2 separate regions of the Homo sapiens genome follow, and region 2 is linked to region 1. The links are contacts of gene promoters, found by promoter capture Hi-C in human tissues and cell types (Jung and others, 2019). All regions are on one chromosome and are shown on one strand. The core of a region is centred on a gene start or on the middle of the fragment in contact, and the rest is flanking DNA. Distances in the headings are between cores, read along the strand shown. Region 1 holds the start of KRT3 (keratin 3). Region 2 holds the start of KRT2 (keratin 2).

Evidence for each region. Contacts are between HindIII fragments. The study calls those that stand out against the background at their distance.
Region 2: a fragment that was not itself captured here is called in contact with the fragment with the promoter of KRT3 in region 1 in 5 of the 25 tissues and cell types used here (H1 embryonic stem cells, bladder, small bowel and 2 more).

The regions. Positions count from the first base shown.
Region 1 is chr12:52,793,701-52,800,297 of GRCh38, forward strand. KRT3 (keratin 3) reads right to left here and starts at 2,417. Exons shown (of 9, transcript NM_057088.3): 1 at 1,698-2,417; 2 at 411-631. The coding sequence starts at 2,342. The HindIII fragment of the contact is 6,438 bases long and covers 1-5,927 here.
Region 2 is chr12:52,646,179-52,652,906 of GRCh38, forward strand. KRT2 (keratin 2) reads right to left here and starts at 6,033. Exons shown (of 9, transcript NM_000423.3): 1 at 5,380-6,033; 2 at 4,161-4,375; 3 at 3,736-3,796; 4 at 2,829-2,924; 5 at 1,995-2,159; 6 at 1,552-1,677; 7 at 562-782. The coding sequence starts at 5,964. The HindIII fragment of the contact is 3,386 bases long and covers 1-3,365 here.

The DNA of each region.
Region 1 (6,597 bases), core at 1,167-3,666:
GTTTCCTCAGCCACCCGACTATCTTGGATTACAGGTGTGTGCCACCACACCCAGCTAATTTTTGTATTTTTAGTAGAGATGATATTTCGCCATGTTGGCCAGGCTGGTCTTGAACTCCTGACCTCAAATGATCTGTCCACCTCGGCCTCCCAAAGTGCTGGGATTACAGGCATGAGCCACCAAGCCCAGCCTAAACTCATCCTCTTGCCACAATTTTATTTGCAAAGCACCATGCTTGGAGAAGGAAGGTGAGGGGGAACTGAATGAACCAAGCTGTCCTTCATGAAGGTAAGGAGAGGGAAATGGGCCAGGAGACGCCACTGCCCAGCAGTCAGGGGGCATGTAGAAGGGGCCAAGACTCTGAGACAGGGTGGGCCATGGCATCTTCCCACTCCTGCCCTGTCACTCACTTCTTCTTGAAGTCTTCCACCAGGTCCTCCATGTTCTTCAGCTCAGAGTCCAGGCGCCCTCTCTCCCCGAGGATGTTGTCCAGGTAGCTCCGCAGGTAGTTGATGTGATTCTCAAAAAGAGGCTCAAGGTTGTTTGTGCCTGAGATGGAACTTGTGCCCTGCTGCTGGAGCAGGTTCCACTTGGTCTCCAGGACTTTGTTCTGTTGCTCCAGGAACCGCACCTGCAATGGTTGCAGGAAGCAACATCAGGCAACACTTGTAGCAGAGGAGCAGAGGGGCCTTCACTCAGGTAGGACTAGGTGTCTATCTCCTGGGCCCCCAGCACAAAGGCCTAGAAAAGATGCAAAGATAGGCTCCTACTGTAGTCAGAGAGATTATGATCAGATGGGTGATGAGTCAGGACACTACACTTGCAGCGTGGTTTGGAAAGTTACAAAGGAAGGGGAAGTAGCTCCTACCTGAAAGCAATAGAATTATTGCTTGTTGTTCCTGGGAACTTCATGACCCTATCTTAACTTCCAAAACCACAGTACACTCTACAAAAATGCACATAAACCTCAGCAGCACCATTTCCACCCACGACTCTACTGACATGCTAGCTCTTCAAAAACAGTGAAGTGATGCTGGGAAGCTGGGAAGCAACACTGGCTGGCATGCCACAGTTAGCATGACAACACCTCTCTTGGGCCTGGAGGGGAGGCAGCCCCATGAGAACTGTCCTGGTCTGGAGAAGCTCACCGAGCACTCTTGTCTTCCTGACTAGGCTGAGTAGGAGTGCAAAGTCACTCATTTCTCTGCGCTCCCTTGGGACTAACTAAGGTTCTTATGCTCTTAATCCCTGCTCCAGGTAATCAGCCTCCTCTGCCTGGCACAGCAATATGAGGGGGAAAGGGCTTCCTGGAAAGCCTCAGAGGGCAGCTTGTATTTGAAAAGCCTCCCATTCTTGGTGGACCCTTCGCTGATGGTGGCTGTGGCCCTTGCCTTGGGCTGCCTGCCCTGCCAGCCTGGGCCTCAATGAGGCAATGACTGGAAACTTCAGCAGGGGTTCCCACAAACAGGATGTGTGGTGCTCAGGTCCAAATAGGGGACTGTTTTCTTTCTACACCTCCCCTCACTTGACCATGTAGACAAACTCCTCAACCCTGGATATCTTCCCAGACCCTAGAGTTCCACCTAACTCCTCACCCTCCAGTCTGGCCTATCCAAGAAACATTTAAACACTGTGTCCCAAAGGTCAAATTCAAAGTCCCCAGCCCAGGAAGGGATGACCAGTCAAAGCTTCATTACCTTGTCAATGAAGGAGGCAAACTTGTTGTTGAGGGTCTTGATCTGTTCCCGCTCCTGGGCCTTTACTTGCCCAATCTGGGGGTCGATCTCCACATTGAGGGGCTGCAGGAGACTCTGGTTGATAGTCACTTCCTGAATTCCCCCAGGAAAGCCCCCAGGGCCAAAGCCACCAGGACTGCCCAAGCTGCCAGGCCCACCAAAGCCACCAGACCCACCAAAGCCACCAGGACCACCAAAGCCACCAGCCCCTCCAAAGCCACCAGCCCCTCCAAAGCCACCAGCTCCACCAAAGCCACCTCCCATTCCTCTGCCACCACCAAAGCCACCACCAAAGCCACCTCCATAGCCGCTCCCAAAGCCACCTCCATAGCCACCTGCAAAGGCACAGCTGCTCCGCCCTCCCCCAAAGCCTCCAGCCCGGGAGCCGCCAGCTGCCACGCTGATGGAGATGCTCTTGTTGCCGCCCAGGTTGTAGAGGCTGCGACTGCCAAAGCCACCTGCTCCGCTCCGGAAGCCATAGGCCCCTCCGCCAGCTCCCCCAGAGTGGGCCACACAGCTCATCCTGCTGCTGCCGGAGACCACAGCAGAGCGGCCGGAGAAACCCTGGCTCCCGCCACCAGATGTCTTGCTGGCTTGTCTGCTCATGGTAAGGAGCTTGGCGAAGAGAAGAGTGTAAGTTAAGCAGGGACACTGAGAGTCAGAGGAAGAGGGATGGGAAATGAAGACCTGTGCAAAATAAATCCCTTTATATACATTTGAGGAGGTTGTTGGGCTCAAACGAAGGAGAGATAATTAATCCCAAATATTCATGGGCTGGGTTTGCCTCCAAGGCAATAAGTTTGTTCCAGGCTACCAAACACACCTTGAAAATAAGCTGAAATGGTAAAAGTGCTAAGGTGGCAGGCTTACCTGGTGAGGGGGTGGTGCCTGGTGTTGCCCCATGTTTGGGCATGGCCTCCTCCTAGCTCTGTCTGACAGGACCCAGGAGGCACGCTCACCTGCATCAGGTGCTCAGCAGCCATCCCTCTGCCTATTAGCTGCACCTGGGCCCTGCAGAGCGGTGCCCAGCTCTGGAGAGGATAGAGTGGAGGAGGTGTGGGGAGGTTCTGCTTCTCTGAGTAGTGGAGACAGTGGAGCCCACTCACAGCTCTGGGAAAGTATCTTAATGGAAGGAGTGATGCAGGTCTCTCCACAATGACTGAGTGCACAGTATGTGCCCAGCTCTACGCTGGCCTTTGGGATGAAGCGCTGACCTCTCCTTCTCCCTTCTTGGAAAAAAGCCCAGAACTATCACAAATCTGCCTCCTGGGTTCTCCCTGTACCCCAAGCTTTAGTTCAGGAGGTAGTGACCTTTTGGTTTATGACTATCTTTGGAGAAAAAGTCAAGTTAACACCTATGTATGTTGAGCAGACACTGGCAAAATCCAACATGCCTAATGTTTGTTTCTCTTTAAAACTTCCCAGAGAAATTATACACTATTACACATCTTGGGGTTTATCTATGGCTTCCTTTCTTGCTCCCCACATTTTGGCCTTTCTCTGGTTTTAGCTTAAGGCCTAGGGAACAAGAAATTCAAATGTCAAGTCAACAACAAATTCAGCAAATATTTACAGACTGCCAAATGTGTGCCAGGCCCTTTGCAAAACTCTGGAGACCCAGTCATGGACAAGACACACAGGGCCCCTGTGGGACCATTTTCTGTTTGAGAGATGTGCTCCTGAGAGTCGCCCATGCCCCCTCACAAACCCCAGAAAGCCAGATCTGGCAGAGCCGGCAGCACTATGGAATATGTCTGACTCCGAAAGCCTGAAACTCTCCCTGTCTGGGGTTGTTCAGAGGCTTATGACTGGGCTTGGTTTGTCCAAAAGAAAGCCATCCTGCACACTCTGGAGCTGGCCAAGTTAGCTGCTTATCTCTCCAGGACAGGCCTTTTTTGTTCTGTCTGCTGCACATTGGGCCCTTCTAAGGGTGTGGTCTGTATGGCCCTGGCAGGAGCCTCCTTAGAATTGGGGGAAAGGATAGAGACTTCTTCAACACCCACTGGGTAGGGCTGGGAGTGGCCCAAGTGCAAAGGAAGTACAATTTTCTTCAGTGGCCTGGTTCTTCCATTTTATCCTTATCTCTCCCATGTGTTACCTGCCAGGCTGTGCAACATCCTAGCTCCTCCCCAGGATAAAACCATAAGCTCTCCAGGAGTTTCCAGTCTTGTTAATATACTGGGTGCCTTGAACCAAAGCACAGTGCTTTGCCAATAGTAAGTGCCATAAAGTTTGGTTTGTTGAAAAAATGAATTAGTCCATCAATTAATTATTAATGACTAATGGTTAAGCCCTTATACTGGATTACAACCAGATAAAACTGGTTGAAAGCTAGTTCAACTCCCATTGCATGAGGTAGCACAAGCTAATTGAGATTATTTCAATGTGAGGAATCCAGACTTCTCAAATTTGGTGTTCAGATTTAGAAAAATTTACATGCAAAATGAGTGTCACCTCCTCAGGGGAAAAAAATGTAGAATCACAGAATCAAGAACTAATCAATCAAGAATCAATCAATTACAGAATCAAGTTGAAGTTGACTGGACATTTGAGGTCACACAATCTGCCCCGTTCATTGCTGGGATCCCCTCTCCAGCATCTCTGACTTATATCCCTAATTTTCTGCAAGTTCTGCCCATGGACTGTGAAGTTAGCCCAGGCCTAGAGTGTGGCCACACAGGCTCCTCTCCTCTTTGCTCCCTCAAAGGCAATGAACCAAACCCAGGGCTAGACCAGATCCTCCCCATGACTAAGCATGACCAAAGCTATTTAAATTCTCTGCATTTCAGCATCATTAACCATAAAAGATGATCAATCATCTCTGACCCTCTAGATCTCACAGGAACATAGCTAGATGAATGAAATATCTGCCAGTGTTTTAAGAAACATATCACAAGGCCAAATGTGGTGGCTCACGCCTGTAACCCCAATACTTTGCAAGGCTGAGGTGGGCAGATTGCTTGAGCCCAGGAGTTTCAGACCAGCCTTGGAAACATGGCAAAACACCATCTCTATGAAAAAAATACAAAGATTAGCCGGGTGTGGTGTCATGTGCCTGTAGACCCAGGTGCTTGGGAGGCTAAGGTCGGAGGATCACTTGATCCTGGGAGGTCAAGGCTGCACTGAGCTATGATTGCACCATGGCACTCCAGCCTGGACAACAGAACAAGACCCTTCTCAACAAAAGAAAAAGAAAAAAGGAAACATATCACAAAAATTAGACCATATTTTTCCTTATAATATCTAAGAGAGCAGGATGGAGGACCTGCCTTTATGCCAGACAGAAATGAGGCTGCTGCTTGGTCTGGTGTGGGGTCTAGAGTCCAGGGCAATGAGTCTCTAGGAATTCCTAAACCCATAGTGATTCAGGGTACTTAGTGCCCCAATGGGGGGAGATCTTAGTCATTGCCAGAGCCCACTGATTCTGAGCCATGCTTGTCATTCCTTTAGAGGGAATTATCTTGGAGAAGAATCTTTGAGAAGCAACATCACAACCACTGCTGTCATCAGCTAGTCCTGGGTCGGGGACCTCCCCAGCAGATGGTGGAAGAAAAAGGAAGAAGGGCATAATCTATACTTACTCTTGGGGTTGGGATAGCAGAGAAGACATGGCTTGACCTTTGAGAGGACAGGGAGCAAAACAAAGATTGGGGAATACATTCGTGGGACTAGATTGTCAATTCTGATCAGAGCTGTGAGTGAAGGAAGTGGTGGAAGGGGAGGAGATAATCAGTGAGTTGAAATTCTTATTGGTTGGGCCCATCCCTCTAAACTTGTAGGGCCTAATAAACACTTTGAGAAAACAGAGTTGGTTTACAGTCATCCCCAACACTTGAATTATCTGAAGTTTATTAACTAAGCGCCCTAAGTGTTTACTCCCTGGAGAAAAGAGTGAGTCACTGGATTGCAATGTGTAAAATCGAGACTCATAGGGTGCTACGGCCAGGAGGCTCTCCAGTCCACTCCTCTACCTCGAGGCAGAATTCACCTGGCCACTCCTACTCTTCAGGATCCCCATGGAAGGCGATTCATCAAATCTCCTAACTTGCCCAGGCCAGCAAGACCCCACCCTGACCCAAGGAAGGTCTTCAAGGATCTAGCTTTCGTGCCTTCCACTCCATTTCATGGGAGCCTAACTCCTCTTAAAGGATCAGTGAAGTTGTGGTCAGCAGCAGGAGGCCCAGTCACCTGTCCGTCATGGCATGGCACCCATACCTCTCTGCTTGTGAAGGCCCCTTTTAACACACAAAAAATTACATTGACCTTCACACATGTCAGAACTCATACTTCCAGTATCCTTTGAGAATATACATTTTTTACTATGAATTTAGCAACACTTTTAAATAAAAGTGCAGTTCATAGTCATATACATTTGAAAGTGGTAATACATATACATAAAAAGACACATTATTCACTCAGTCGAGAGACACTTGCATCCATGTGCATTCTCAGAATCCTTGCAGTCCTGACACAACAGCAACCCTAACTGGGGCCTCTCAGCCTCAGGTCTCAAGGTCCTGCCCCTTCCACGGCTGGACACCTGCCCCCAGCTGAGATTCCCCACTGAGCACTGTTACCACCTGTCTTCCCTGCCTTTGTGTCCATCAGCCTGTGGCCCTGGCAGGCCTTCAGCAGATGGGAACTGAGTTGCGATGAATTTGCTCTTGCCTGGCCTTCCATAGTAAAACACACACACTCCCCTGGTTTCTGTATCACAACCCTTCCAATATTAGAAAATACTGTGGAATTCACAGACACCAACCTCCCAGTTAGATAGACCCAGTTGTTTCTCCCAGTCCTCAGTACAGATGGTTTCCGGGAATCTTCTCTGCACCCACTTTAATATGTTAATGGACCTCTT
Region 2 (6,728 bases), core at 423-2,922, 150 kb before region 1:
ATTAAGTCACCCAAGATGCTGATAATACGGACAAAGGTCTCAGACTACAGAGGAAGCAAAGGGTGCCTCTTTGAAAGTTAGCAAATGGTTCCATTTGTCACTCCAGAAACCTGCAAAGAACTGGGGCTGGCACCTGCTCCGGTCAGCACGTCCCCACCAGTCAGCACATTCCGAGACATCATCTCCCCCATTCTGGGTCACCCGGTGGAGGGCACAGAAGCCACTCACCCTATGGACCTAGAGACCAAAGTTTCAGACTGTCTAGGACTAACCTGTTTTCCCATGATTTTGTTTTCTCTTTCAGAAAAGACCAGGATGTTTAACTTACTGCTTAGTTTAATTTAATGTGCCTTATGCATCATTTCATGTTGATAAATGTGTAACTCTCCAATCATGCTTTATGTCCTGAGTTTCTGCTTGGGGAACACAGAGAATGTCAGTTCTCAGTTGTCAGGAGGGCCTGCCCCATTCTCTGCTTTCCCTGTCTTTGCCTCCAGCCCTGGCTCTGGGAGAGATGAGAGGAAGGGCCAGGGTCCCCTTCTCCCTTCCCAGTGCCCTCACCTGCACTCCTCGCCCTCCAGCAGTTTGCGGTAGGTGGCGATCTCCACATCTAGGGCCAGCTTCACGTTCATCAGCTCCTGGTAGTCACGCAGCAGCCGCGCCAAGTCCTCCTTGGCCTGCTGCAGGGCCTCCTCCAGGTCATTCAACTTGTTCCTGGCATCCTTGAGGGCATGCTCCCCACGCTGCTCGGCATCTGCGATGGCATCTTGCACATTCTTACACTATGACAGAAGGACAGAGAATGGATTCTGCCTGACGGAGGCGGACAGAGAGCAGAGGTGTTCGAAGTGCAGGAAGCCAGAACCACTGGCCCTGGGAGTGTTAGGTCCCCTCTGGAGTTTAGTCGCAAACAACTGTGCTAAGACTTGCCGCTGTCTCTGGCACATCTTCTTCCCATGTCACCGTTGATGACACCCTTTGGCTTTCCCCATAGTGCCCTTTGATCCTCACATCACAGGGCCTGAATCATGATCCCATTTTACAGATGGAAATGAAAACATTTGAAATGGTCTGCTTGGCAAAGCTTCTGCTGCTGATGGAATCCACTCTCTGCCTCTACCTTTTCTATTCCAAAGCTAACGTCCAGCCCCAGGCCAGCTGCCCTCAATACTCACTGCCCCTCTATGAAACCAGTCGGCTGGTGCTCAGGGCCTGTGCTGAGCACAAACGGGAAGCTCCATCGGCAATCTGCAGCAAATCAATCAAACTAACGTTTGCTCTATTTGTTATGACTCCCTTTTCCTCATATAAACAAGTGAGCACAATTCTTTCCCTTCGATAATCCTTACTTTGGAATGTCTATTAGAGCACTCTAAGAATTGTTATAATAAGCCATAAATTATGTTAAGCTGGGGAATTTGGGATCGATACATGCTAGAGTGCAATATCTCAGTGTCTCTCATCTCTCACATGCACACTCACACACAACCACACTCTCACGCACACCCAGAGACAACCTCCCGCCCCTCGCTGGACAGGGCTGGGCCTCACCTGCTTCTTCACATGTGCGATCTCCCCCTGCAGCCTCTGGATCACGCGGTTCAGCTCGCTGATCTCTATCTTGATCTCTTTCAGGCTGTCTCCATGTCTCCCGACAGTCACCTGGAGCTCCTCATACTGATATGGGGAGAAGAGGACAGTTTGCAAGGAAGTTCCAGCCTGGCTCACATTCCAGACTGACTGGAGTGAAGGAGAGCTGGTTACTGGTCCAGGGAGGGTCAACCCAGCTAAATGTCATGGCTGCATTCATGAGAGGTAGGGACTGTCTCACATGCCCAAAAGGACTTGGTGCCATTCTCAACATCCTTTCTTGGGAATGGTGCCCAACTACCATTAAACAAAAAACCAATAACCTTACTGTACACTTTCCAGCTGGGGGTGCAACCCAGCTCATGGCAGGGAGCTGTGGCTCTTCCTACATTCCCTCTACTTGCCTTGCTGTGGTACAGGGCCTCCGCTTCTTCCTTGCTCCTCTGGGCGATCTCCTCATACTGGGCCTTGACCTCGGCGATGATGCTATCCAAGTCCAGGTTGCGGCTGTTGTCCATGGAGAGGATGACGTTGGTGTCAGTGACACTCTGATGTATCTGGGATATCTCCTACAACACACAGGAAGGTCTGGTCATGACATCCTGCCATAGCTACAGGCAGACAGGAGGCCTCTGTCTCCCAGCATAAGGGAAACGCAGACCCTCAGACTAAGCATACACTAGGTGGGATGAAAATCATGTAACCGTCTACTCCTGGGCCTCTCCCAAGGTTGTCCTGAGAATTGTAGTGAGAGGCACCTGTATTTCTGAGCCTCCTAGTTAACATTCAGCACTTAAGCCAGTTATGGTAAGTGCCCCCAGACAGAAGCTTGTCCATGGCAAATACCTTAAATGGACTTCCTGTTTCAGAAATCATCTGTGCACCCTTGGGTTGGGGAGGGGGATAGGAGACAAATGCATTTTGACCTCTGAAGTACAGTAGGCACAGGAATGGGCACAGGGCTTGTCTCTTCCCCAGGGGAAATGGACATCTGGGGAATGGAGGGAGGGGAAGCTGTCCTGGTGTTTCCTGAACCTTATTCCCATAACATCGGAGGAGAAAATTCCTCACCCACAAGACCTATGCTATGAAAGCCCCCCCAGTGGCCTGGAATGATGGCAGATTGAAGTCAGCTGGTCCATAAACCCCACTTCTGCCACTTTTTCACCAAGCAGAAAGGACTTTCATTTGGTGAGAAGGGTGGGAAGTAAGGGACTGTCCCGGAGCAGCCTCCTTACCGCATCATAGAGAACTTTCAGAAACTCAATTTCCTGGTTCAGCAGGTCCACCTTGGACTGCAACTCCACCTTTATCATGTAGGCATTGTCCACGTCCTGCAAGAAAGGTTGAGGCCTCTGGTGTATGGTTCCCTGTACAGGCCTCTTCCTCTCTCTGCCACTCCCCTCTACTCAGTCCCTGCTGGCTCCTCTCTAAAATCCCAGGCTCCCCAACCTGATCCCTGTCCCCATGGGACTTCTTTTGTCGTGCAGTTTACCATACACCTCTGCCAGGGACTTCATGCCTACGTCCATGGCTCACAGCCCTCAGGACCATCAGAGCCTCGAGATGACCAAGCTTTGCCAACCAGCCCCTCTCTCCTGCTTGAGACACTGTGTGTTTCTACAACAGGATACGATGTTCTTTGTGGGTTTCCACAGTCCTCAGCTCTCTCATCCCGTCTGTCCATCTCACCTCTCCGAAATTTCCCCAGAATATACACCAAAGGCCCTGCAGGACCCAGCAGGAGAACCCTTGCTTTTGGCCTACAACCTCAAACCTTTGTCAGCACAACCAACAGCAACTTTAAGCAGGCATTCTAAGGGAAGTCCCATTCCTTCCTCAGCTCTTTAGAAGGAGAATACAAAGAGATTTTTGTGTTTGCATTTATCATGATTCAGTAGAGGCTTTAAGTGGGTTACTACTGGGAAGCACTCTACCAAAAATGCAGAACAGCTTTGAAAACTGTATCCAGAAGCTTGACCTACAGAGACAATTTTGTTTGCAAGAGAATGTGCCATGGGTCTCACTCCTTTCTCTGGCTGCTGCTTTTGCACTCACAGTTGATTTCCAAACTGGCTGCTTAGACACAATGGGGCTGTGAAGCACTCCTATCCCCACCCCCAGCCAAGACATTCTCTCGCTCACCTTTTTAAGCGTCACAAAATCATTCTCAGCAGCTGTGCGCTTATTGATTTCATCCTCATACCTATTGGGACACAGATGTTACAGCAGTTAGATTAGTTCCCCTTCATTTTTTTTCTTTTCCTTTTATACTGGATTCACCCCAAATGCCCCATTCTCTGGGAATATTACACACTTTTTAAATATCTAAATTGAAACTAAGATTTCCAAACTAAAGATATATTTTTATAAACTAACTCTCAAACATACAAAAGACAAAAATGATCTCTAAAGTCTCACTGTCTTCCTCACAAATAATCAACAAAGATACATATGCCTCTCCCCATTACCACCACAAATGCAACTGGGAGATGAATGGCTTTCCAGGGAGTGATCAAATGGCTCAGTGCAATGTTTATCTCCACTCAGCGTTTCACTCTGCCACCTACTTCTTCTTATAATCCTCCACAAGATCCTGCATGTTATTCAGCTCTGAATTCTGTGATGTTCTTTCTGCAGTGAGCCCATCCAGATATCTCTTGAGGCTGTCGATATACCCCTGGAAGATGGGCTCCAGGTTGATGGGGCGGGTGCCAACATTCATTTGTTGTAGCAGCTCCCATTTGGTCTGTAACACCTGGTTCTGCTGCTCCAAGAACCGCACCTGCCATGACCAGAAGGAGAGCACATGAGTTCTAGATCATCCTTCACACCAAGCAAGCCACGCTGGCCAGGGGCAGCTCAGGTGCTGCTTCAGGACCTCGAGAAGTGTCTGAGGCTGGATGCCGAGTCATGACTGGCAGAGCTTCTGAGCTCCCTGCTTTCGCCCCTGGAAAGTCCCACAGACTCCTAATGCTACATCCGGCTCTCTCCACGCAGAGGAGACTCTTTGCTGCTTCACTGCTCACTGGTTTGTTTGCAGCTGCTCCCAATACTCTAGACCATTTCCCTCCCCGCATCCTGGTTGAATTTCCAGCCAAGATCCCATAAATTCTGGGGAAAACCGAAAGCAGCCATCTGCTGGCACTGCTCGCAAGGGTGCTGAGTATGAGAGTCCCAGAGGGCAGGGCTCCTCAGCCTGATTTTTAAGAGCCTTGTAAATCCCTGCCTATTTCAAGGCAGATAAACCAAGACAGGTTCGTCTGCCTTGAAATAGGAGAAAAGCCAGTAACACTCCGAAGTGACACCAATAAAGACTTTATGGATCACAAAACTGAGAACGCTTCTCTTGAAGGCAGGAATTTCCTGCATTCCCAAGCAGATATTTCAGGTTCAGCTTCCCAGAGTTTAGTAATCACTGCTAAGGAAGGAAACACTATCTCAGAAGACGATGGCTTCCAAAACCTGCTGCTCCAGTGGCCTGTCCCAAGGATCAGTTCAATACTTGCCTATATCCATTTTTTATGGTTTTCAGAATTTTCCATAAATATTATTTATATGGACTGTAACAATAAGGTCAAAGGGACAAATGCTTCCTAAGTGCAGGCTGTTATGGGAAATGTAACCCACAAAGCTGGCGTCTTTTCCATCTGGAAACCGCAAATGACCCAGGCTACTGCGGTACACCACTGGCTCCTAAGAAATACAAATCTGTGCCATTTTCTTTTTGGTTGGCTCTGGAAGTGAAGTGGCCTGAGCATCAGTGGGAGCCGTCTTCTCCAGAGTCACCTTGTCAATGAAGGAGGCAAATTTGTTGTTGAGAGTTTTGATCTGCTCACGCTCTTGGGCCTTCACATTCTGGATCTCTGGGTCAACTTTCACGTTGAGAGGCTGCAGGAGGCTCTGGTTGACAGAGACTTCGTGGATGCCACCAGGGTATCCTCCAGGCCCAAAGCCACCAGGACCCCCTAAACCTCCAACACCACCAGGGCCCCCAAAACCTCCAAAGCGGCCTCCACCAAAGCCGCCTCCACCGAAACCACCACCACTGAAGCCGCTGCCACCTCCAAAGCTGCTGCCGCCTCCAAAACCACCTCCTCTGCCACCAAATCCACCAGCGGCGCCAAAGCCACCACCTCCTCCAGCCACACTAATGGAGATGCTCTTGGTCCCTCCAAGGCCAACAAGACTCCGACTGCCAAAGCCGCCTCCACCGAAGCCCCCGCCACCACCACCATGGCGGCTCAAGCAGGAGAAGCTGGAAGTTGATCTCCGGCTTCCACCAGACACCACAGCTGAGCCGCTGCTGAAGCCCCGGAATCCTCCTCCACCTCCTCCTCTTCCTCGAGATTTGCAAGAGATCTGACAACTCATGATGCCTTTGTCCAGGGAGGAAAGTCACAGGCTCTTGAGAAGAGTCAAGGCTGGAGACTCAACTGTGCTGCTGGGAGGCTTTCAGGGTCCCCTTATATACCTGCCAACTAGGTGTTGTGTACATGGGTGTGGATCCACTTATACGTGGGTTTGGTCTGCCTGGGAGCTATTCCTGGTGCGTGATTATCAAGCTAATAGCCATTAAAAATCTACTAATCAGCTCCATCCCAGAACTTGCTTTGATTGCAAACTTCTGTTTATCTGGGCATCTGTCATGCAATTTGATTTTTGTAAAATCATCAAAAGAGGAGATCAGGGTTTGGGTTTCTCAATCTGGAAAAGGACCTTCTGCAGAATGCTGCTCCCTGTTCTGGACCTGCCCAAGGGAAGTCAGCTACCACCCATGCTTGTGCAGGCTCACCACCCCAGTTCAACAATGAAAGGGATGGTGGGTTTAGAGACTGCAAGAGCCCCTCAATGCCAGCCTTGTAGTTCTCTTGTAGTTTCCCTCTTTCCCAGAAAGAGCCCCAACTAGTGCAGGGGAGACTGCAAAGGTCTTAAATGACCTTAAATGCTAATTGGAAATCGACCTCCTCTTACAGAAAGTAATTGGCCTCGGATACTGCAAAAGAGGTGTCGATTTTCAAAATATCTTGGCTCTTTTCTTCCCATGCCACACCAAAAATACACAATAACTAGGCACCGAATAGAGATTTTTTATAACCATGATGGTTTGTATAACCATCAACTGTCCCTTGTCTACA